3 separate regions of the Homo sapiens genome follow, and all the other regions are linked to region 1. The links are contacts of gene promoters, found by promoter capture Hi-C in human tissues and cell types (Jung and others, 2019). All regions are on one chromosome and are shown on one strand. Each heading gives the region's core, a stretch centred on a gene start or on the middle of the fragment in contact. The rest is flanking DNA. Distances are from core to core; before and after follow the strand shown. Region 1 holds the start of INPP5F (inositol polyphosphate-5-phosphatase F). Region 2 has its middle 100 kb from the start of PLPP4. Region 3 holds the start of SNORA19 (small nucleolar RNA, H/ACA box 19).

Region 1 (3,053 bases), core at 60-2,559:
CTGAAAAGCTCATCTGAACCTTTTATCCTTTTCAATTCATATCATGTAATCCTTCTGTCTAGACTGCACATAAGAATTACAAGTAAGTCTGAAAAGCTCTGGCTCCTTCCTTAAAGAACTCTATCCTCTCGCTTTCCCTAAAGTGGAAGAATCTCTGAGTGATATGAGGAAAGGATTAGCAAGCCAAAAGGGGCAGGTGCCACCCAGCCCCATCTTACAAGAAACTGGACTGTCAGCGCTCTGAGGGCAGGGACTGCTCTGTTTAAACCACGACTGCACACACATTTTCCTAAAGCAAGCTAATTGCAGACTTAAGCCTCTCCGAACAGCTTACATGACACCCAAACATGGACCCACAATACATTTTGTGTCGCACAACATCAAGTCACACAAAAATCTCAAAATTATACATTACAATACAATTTAATTGTGCTGTGGTATTAAAGTCAAAGACAAAGGCTTTAAACCGAGTGCCTATGAGGTAACCACAGTAAAGTCACACCTTTAATAATAAGGGACCAAGAACACACGGGATGGCAACAGGGAGTGAGTGTCCAGCAGAGCCCTAGACGGAACTGGCGCAACCGCTCCAGATCGGAATTCGAACCCAGAACTTCTGGCGAAGGCCATGTAAGAACTACTCCAAGGAGGAAGAGGCCTTTACGGCCAGGTGCACCTTGCTGGAACTTTCTGCCGGAGGGGACCCCCTCCCCTCGGCCTGGGCCCCAAGCCCCAAGGGCGGCCGCGTGACGCGGTGGGAAGGACGAGGGTCGCCAGCCCCTTCTGCTCCGCACTGGGGTAGGGGCTCGGCGCTGTCTCGGAGAAAGGCCAGGCTCCTTCCAGTCAGGGAATAATGACAGCTCGCGCGCTCGCAGCCCGCCCCGCCCCGCCTCACCAGGCCCGCAGGCGGCTCCTCCCGCCCGGCTGAGGGGTCCGGCCGCGCCCCCTCCTCTCCCCGCCCTGGCCCGGGGTGCCCCCCGCCCGCACCGCCAGCCTCACCGGGTCGGAGCTGGAGGCCGCCGTCGCGGCGGCTGCACCACAGCGCGCGCTCGCCCTGCTGCAGGATGTAGTGGTCCTTGGCTTGGAAGAGCTCCATGCTGGCCCCGCGCGCCCAGGGAGGCGGCGGCCCGCGGGCGGCGCACGGGGCGTCCTAGTCGGTCGAGGCCGCCAGAGCCCGCGCCTCGGGGAGCGGCCGGGTAGGAACCGCGCCGAGAAGCAGCGGCAGAGGGAACGCCCCGGGGCACCCGACCGGTAGGAGGAGAACGCGCCCCGGCAGCGGCGGCGGCAGCGGCGGCCGTAGAGGCCTCTCCCCCCCGCTCCTCCCCTTCCCTGGCTCCGCCCCAGGCCCGGCTCCACCCCCTCTGCTGGCTACTCTCCCCGAGCGCCCGGCTCCGCCCCTCAGCCTCCTCCTCCTTTCAGCTCCCTCCCGCTTCCTGCCCTTTCCTCCGCCTTCTCCCGGGTGTCTCCTCCCAGCTCCTCCCCGCGGGTCTTTCCTCCTCCCTCTCGTCCTTCCGCCCGCCCCTCCCGCTCTTGCCCAGGCCCCTCCCCCGGCGCGCCAGCCTTCCTGTCGTGGTCACCGGTGGCAGCTCGGGAGCTCGGCCGAGTCGGTCTGGACTGACCGCCTCCCTCCGCGCGGCCTTGGGGACAGGCGCCCACCGCTGGGGCCTCCCCTCCGTGCAGGGAGGCGCTCACGCTTCGCCAGGCCGAGACCTGAATCCAACCCCACACCCGCTCTCCCGGAGCGGTGCGGGGTACGTTCCCCGCGGGCCTGCGCTGCCTGCCCGTACCGAAACCAGGCGAGACCCCGGGGCCTGGCTACAGGGGTTCATCCCCAGCCAGGCCCACAGCCAAGCGGAGGCGTCTTCTGTTTTCGTATTCCCTATTAGAAGTTTGACAACAGGAGGCATTCAATAAATGCACATCAACGAGGGAAAGCATGTAACAATAGAAAACACACAAGCATTAGCAGCACGCGGCTAAAGAGCGAGGAGGAAGGGAGGAATGTACAGGTGCTGCTGTGTCCCGAATTAAGCAGGGCGGTTTGGAGAAGACTTCACAAATGGAGCCAGTTAATGAAGCAAGCGGAAGGAATATCGTTTGGCGAGGATAAGATGAATGGAGACCCTCTCGGGGAAGGAGGAGTCTCCCCCAAACATCCTTGAGCTCAGTCTGTCTTGAAAAACCAGTTGATATCCTGAACAGAATGGGTCTGGAGAATGAGGCCCCCACTTCCGGGGCCAGTTCGAGGACTATCTAGCTGTGTGATCTTGGGGAAGTCTCTTGGTCTCAGATGGTGGTTGAACTAATGACCTTTTATGACACCCCCAGTTCTATAAATCATTGAGTCTTCCTACTCCTAACTCCTTGCCTTCTCTAATGCCTGAATCGGAAACAAGAGAAAAAGACAAGAAGTAGGAGATGAGAAAAATAAGGCAATACTTTTTTTTTTTTTTTTTTTAGTTTAGGAGCGGAAGTTTATAGGCAAAAGAAAAGGGAGAACAGCTGTCTCTCTTGCGAGAGAGAGGAGTGACCGAATGGGACTTCTCAGAAAGCAATACTTTTAACCTTCTGCTCAAGTAAAAGTGAGAGGGTACAAAAGCAGGAAGGAGTTCCACATGACTAGTTATTCCAGCCCACAGTGTTGAATTTCCATAGCACAGAAAGTCCAATGATAACAAAGCGTCCTGGAATCTTTTCTAAGTACCATGCCTCTGTGCTGTCCAGACACCTCAACATAAAGGTCGAGGGAGGTGGTTACTCTATCAAATCTTTGTGATGTGATTTGGAGAAAGAAGGTAATGAAGCTATAAGAAGCTTCAGTGGAACCATCGGTTTCAGATTGATTGTTTAATTCAGCCATGTGTTGACTTAGCAAAAATGAGAATGAGAAAATCCTATGAAGACATTGTATCCTGCAAATTATTTCATTATTGTTTTATGAATTACATTGCCAGATGTGAAGAAAACAATGCTGTTGTAACTGTTTTAAAACAATTAATTAGTTCATTGAAACTTTTCCTGATGTTTTAGATCCATGGTTCCAACCCTGGCTG
Region 2 (2,843 bases), core at 312-2,811, 630 kb before region 1:
AAATAAATAAATAAATAAATAAATATTAAAAGAAAGAAAGAAACAAAGAAAACTGATAGCATCATATTCCTCTTAAACATTGTGCATCCAAAGTCTAAGAGCTACCTATTAATAAATTGCATTACTATGTTGAGTCTGCTCTGTGTCTCTATATAAGAACATAAACCTCGGGCCGGGCGCGGTGGCTCACACCTGTAATCTCAGCACTTTCGGAGACCGAGGCGGGCAGATCACGAGGTCAGGAGCTCGAGACCGTCCTGGCTAACACGGTGAAACCCCATCTCTACTAAAAATACAAAAAATTAGCCAGGTGTGCTGGCGGGCGCCTGTTGTCCCAGCTACTCAGGAGGCTGAGGCAGGAGAATAGCGTGAACCTGGGAGGCGGAGCTTGCAGTGAGCCGAGATCGCGCCACTGCACTCCAGCCTGGGCGACAGAACGAGACCCTGTCTCAAACAAACAAACAAAAAAGAACATAAACCTCAAGGAAAGAAATCCCAGCTTCAGATCTCTGAAGAATAAGTATGGTACGGAATATCATTCCATTATCTCAGCTACTTTCCCTCAGTGAAAACTTTCATCAGAATTCCAACCACGTTTTAATATCTGTGTTTAAATGAATATGAAATAATTTAAATATAAATCAAGTGAGGTCATTGAAAGTTGAGACTCAAATCAGGCAATGTACAGGGAAGGCTGGAACTGTCTAGTATATGAAGGTTATCTGAGACTATCAGTCAAGGCTCTCCAGAGAAATAGAGCCAGTAGGATAGATATAAATAGACATACACATGTATACACATACAAATGCATATAATAATTAAAGAGATTTATTTATTTTAAGGAATTGGCTCATTTGATTGCGGGGCCTCACAAGTCTGAAATTGACGTGGTCAGTAGGATAGAAGCTCAGGCAGGAACTGATGCTGCAGTATTGAGACAGAATTTTCCCTCTGGGAAATCTCAGTTTTTGCTCTTAAGGAAATCCCCTTATTTGAAGCCAATTGCTTATAGATGCTAACTACATCTACAAAATACCTTCATGACAACACCTAAACTACTGTTTTGGTTAAATAATTGGGTACTATGTCCTAGGCAAGTTGACACATAAACTGACCCTCACAGAGACGTAGCAGGTCCCTGGGATTCTTTTTAAGGATTTCCTCCATGCCATAATCCAGCCAAGTGAATTATTTTTCAAACTACAGGGATTATAAAAAATAATTTGATTAATCACATTCCTCCACTGCATTCATTTTGTCAAATATACTTGTAACTTTACATATGTAGATATACATATATACATCTATGCATATATATACACATATATATATGACTCAGGCATCCATTCGTGCACACACATATACAAACACACATATATATCTAGTATGATACAACATCACTTTCAAATGCACTCCACATGCATCCAAATGGATTCCAAAAACCCTTTTCCTGCTCATTTGCACTCCAAACTAGCTGTACTTTATGTGAACATTTTAAATTACTTTTCCTATAGATGATGCTGTTGGGTTCATTACATCTCCCTTTTCTTGTCACAATGGTGATATTCAACTTGGATTTTCATTACAAGCCATTTTCTGGTTATTGTTTAGAGCCTGGAAACTAATCTGCTCTCTGCCTGTCCCTCAGACATCAATGGTTTTGCCATATTGAAATGCAAAAAGAGAAACAAAATATGCTATTTCATATGTAAGTTGTGACTATAGGGCAATAGGAAGTTTGTTGTCAATTAGCCTTTCATTTAATTACTTTGGCAAATGTGATTTTTTAAAAAACTAGACAAGAAAATCAGTTCCTGCTTCTCAACAATGAACATGGGTCGGACCACTATTACACAACACTTCTAAGAGATGAAGCACAGTGGGTCTTAATTTCTAGTATTTCCAGAGAGCTTATTTTTGAATGAAAAATAACAAAAAACCCCATCAGTGGAATTCCTTACTCAACCAATCCCCTTTTATTTATTTCTTCCAGACAGTATGATGACCATTCTGTTAGCTAATACCCTGGATGAGCTGTAATTCAGAGCGATTTAATTAGCTTTAATAATAGCATCCATGCTTAGTCCTTCTGAAGATTCATTGCAACATGAGGGCATAAATTGGCAAATGTCTACAGTAGGGAATGCCTGGTTATAACTCTCACCTCTGGACTCTCATAAATTCAAAACAGCAGTATCAGTCTCTTCCATCTTCAGTTTTCAATGGATTTTTCTCTCTCAACTTTCCAGGTGACGAATGACACCTTCTTTGGTCTATCTAATACTCAACCTACTGATATTGTTGCAGAAACAAACTTCCCTGGTTTATCCAAAGCATATTTCTCTGCTTTGAACTGATATTTATGTAGGCCCTTTTCATGTGAATAAAAAGTTTGCTAGAACAGACATAATCTAAATCCATGTTTACCTGTGATTTGCCTTGAAGAAAGCCAAATGGTTTGTCTGCCTCAGCTCAAGAATGAACTTTCCCTTTCGGCCGGAACCGCCATCTTCCAGTAATTCGCCAAAATGACGAACACAAAGGGAAAGAGGAGAGGCACCCGATATATGTTCTCTAGGCCTTTTAGAAAACATGGAGTTGTTCCTTTGGCCACATATATGCGAATCTATAAGAAAGGTGATATTGTAGACATCAAGGGAATGGGTACTGTTCAAAAAGGAATGCCCCACAAGTGTTACCATGGCAAAACTGGAAGAGTCTACAATGTTACCCAGCATGCTGTTGGCATTGTTGTAAACAAACAAGTTAAGGGCAAGATTCTTGCCAAGAGAATTAATGTGCGTATTGAGCACATTAAGCACTCTAAGAGCCGAGATAGCTTC
Region 3 (2,905 bases), core at 403-2,902, 670 kb after region 1:
AATTAGAGCTGGGAATTTTTTTTTTTCTCTTAAAGGCAGATTCTAAGTTAGGGAATTTTATTTGTATGCATATACCACACCTTATTGCAGTAAAGATATATGGATGCTTATAAGGAGGAAGTGTTAGAATGTTGTAGGATTTCAGCCTTGTACCCATTTTACATTAGAGTTAACCTTAGACCTGAGTGCTCCCATGTGTGGGTGCCCTCCTTGCTTGGGGATGCGATCTGCCAATATTTGCCTCAGTTTTGTCACCCACTCTCTATGGGTACACACTTCTGTGCTTTGCTCTATCCCAGCAGTTATTTTGTCCTTGGGTTAACAGTTCCTAAAAAAAATGACATATTCCATGGTAAAATTGAAGTCCATATAAATGGGGTAATATGTGAAATTCTTTTCTCACCGCTATGTTTGTGAGATTTATTCATGTGTTCTATGTAGCTGTTCTTTTTTGAGCATTTTTGTTTATTTTATGAATACACCATATGTGAATTCTCCCCAGTTTGGGGCTATTAGAAATAGTGCTGCCATGATAATTTTTGTGTGATAATTTATATAAAAGTAAAACTGGTATTTTCCTTGTTATTGGTAATAAAATATTCTATTGGCCACAGTAGTTGTCTTTGTGAATATTTAATTGGTTGTAGTTGTGTTTTTTAGAGTTTCATTTCCTTTTTACATACTTGTGGGGCTTTTCACGGTAGGTTAATGTGCATAGTGTGGGGCAAAAGACCCAGCATAGTTGTACTTTGGATTCATTTTTGGTAAATTTAGAGGAGGTTGAGGCTTGATGATTTTTTAAATCATTTTCCAGATTTCCAATGCTATCATTTATACTAAGTTCAGAATTTTAGTTGGAAAATTTCCTTTGGCAGTTACATCTTTTGTTTTGCTTACTGTAGGTCAGATTTAATGTACTACAATATGTTGTCCCAGAAGTGAAAGACCTTTACAATTGGCTTGAAGTAGAATTTAACCCATTAAAACTCTGTGAGCGAGTCACAAAGGTAAGCCTTTGTATTTAAGTTCTGGTTGTTACCACAGAGTTGGCCTTCTTGCAGTTTTGGGTTGTATTCATATTTGTTAAGAGAGAAGTTTTGTCCTATGTGTTGGAATTCAGTGCACATTTCATTGTCTTTTTTCTTTATTTCAAGAGAAAAGATATATCTGATGTGCTCAGCAAACCTTTGGAGGTTAATTAGCAGCATGACTAATTTAGCCATTGCTGCCAGTCACCTTCAAACAAGTATCAGTAGCTTCATGATACATTTTGTATTTCTTTGCATTGGATGATGTTTTTGTATATTAAAAAAAAAAGAGTTTTAGATGTTTTAGTATCTCTTATGTAGAAAGTGTGATTCTCTTTCAATTTAATGGATTTTATAGGTTCTAAATTGGGTTAGGGAACAACCTGAAAAGGAACCGGAATTGCAGCAGTATGTGCCACAACTGCAAAACAACACCATCCTCCGCCTTCTGCAGCAGGTAAAAATAAAAAAATAAAAAAAGTTTTGTGATGTTATGTGCTCATCATGAAACTAAAAACTGGAAAAATCTAGAACTGCCTAGGAAGTGAGAACCTCCCCAAGTTCTGCCCCTGGCAAAAATTAGTCTATTTATTAATTTGAAAATCAGAATTATTATATTTACATATTTTGTAACGGACGCTTTTGTTTTTTGGCTGAACACTGTCTTTGGGCATTTTTCCTTGTTAGTAATGTAGGGCTACCTTATTCCATTTAAGGTACTGTGGTGTATTTATTCAGACTCTCTTGATGAAAACCTGTATTCCTAGATTTTTTTTTTCCCTGTTAGAAATCTTGTAGCATTGAGCATCTTTCATACATGTATCTTTGCATACTTCTATTACTTTCTGTGGCATAAGAAGTGGAATTAGTCATAGGGTTTATGGATTTAAAGCTTTAATAGCTATTCAGAAGCCTGGATTAATAGACCCCCCACCATGAGTGAATGAGACAGCCTTTTCATATATTTTAGTCCAGGGGCTTAAGTCAGTAAGTGCTCCCATTTTGTTTTCCATTTGTTGCATTTGGGAAGGAGGGCGTTTTATTATATTTTCATCTCAGTATTTGTGCACATTTCATTGACCTGCTTTCTTTTATGTGAGTAGTGTTATTTCTTATGTGCTATACAAATAATTGAAGGCTAATTAGCAGTATAACTATAAATAGTAATGCTGCCAGTCTCCTTCAGACAAAAATTCTATAAGAAGTGTTTAAATATATTCGGTAAGTAGCAGGTTTTTAGGCTTTTTTGTTTTACAACAACTAGGATTTGAAAAGATTATAGGTTTGAGGAATAGTATGATAATGGTTCTCAAAGCATGGAGTTTAGAGTCGATGGTCTGGGATTAGCATTCTGGCTTTAACAATGTACTGCTAACATAAATTCTCTGGCATAATTTCTACTTCCCATGACTGTCATGAGATTGCACATAAAAAGTGCTGAATAAACAGTGGCTAGTGTTATTAACCCTTTGTTTTCTATGCAGGTGTCACAGATTTATCAGAGCATTGAGTTTTCTCGTTTGACTTCTTTGGTTCCTTTTGTTGATGCTTTCCAACTGGAACGGGCCATAGTAGATGCAGCCAGGCATTGCGACTTGCAGGTAGGTATGTGCTGTAAGGAGACAGGAGAAGGCCCTTGAGGGCTAGAAAGACACATACCTTCTGTTTCTCAGCTTTTGGTACAGTGATACCATTTTAAAGTTTACTGAGTGAACTTTTCCAGCTTTTGTATATGACATTCTTCTGTTACTTTTTGACTTCATGCTTACTTGTGGATTTAACCATTGATAATTTAATTTTCAAAGGTTCGTATTGATCACACTTCTCGGACCCTGAGTTTTGGATCTGATTTGAATTATGCTACTCGAGAAGATGCT

Evidence for each region. Contacts are between HindIII fragments. The study calls those that stand out against the background at their distance.
Region 2: a contact is called between a fragment that was not itself captured here and the fragment with the promoter of INPP5F in region 1, in 1 of the 25 tissues and cell types used here (stomach).
Region 3: a fragment that was not itself captured here is called in contact with the fragment with the promoter of INPP5F in region 1 in 1 of the 25 tissues and cell types used here (IMR-90 fibroblasts).

Annotation. Positions count from the first base shown.
Region 1 is chr10:119,724,306-119,727,358 of GRCh38, reverse strand. INPP5F (inositol polyphosphate-5-phosphatase F) reads right to left here and starts at 1,309. Exons shown (of 20, transcript NM_014937.4): 1 at 1,000-1,309. The coding sequence starts at 1,096. RefSeq lists a silencer at 881-1,650 and an enhancer at 2,261-2,310. The HindIII fragment of the contact is 7,792 bases long and covers 1-3,053 here.
Region 2 is chr10:120,354,869-120,357,711 of GRCh38, reverse strand. It overlaps the pseudogene RPL21P16. Among named protein-coding and RNA genes, the nearest start is that of PLPP4, 100 kb to the left of the region's middle. The HindIII fragment of the contact is 3,748 bases long and covers 1-2,843 here.
Region 3 is chr10:119,059,326-119,062,230 of GRCh38, reverse strand. It overlaps EIF3A (eukaryotic translation initiation factor 3 subunit A), which reads left to right. Exons shown (of 22, transcript NM_003750.4): 8 at 903-1,007; 9 at 1,387-1,485; 10 at 2,513-2,629; 11 at 2,834-2,905. SNORA19 (small nucleolar RNA, H/ACA box 19) reads left to right here and starts at 2,093; the gene lies at 2,093-2,220. It overlaps LOC124900296 (small nucleolar RNA SNORA19), which reads left to right and starts at 1,120; the gene lies at 1,120-1,248. The HindIII fragment of the contact is 6,036 bases long and covers 1-2,905 here.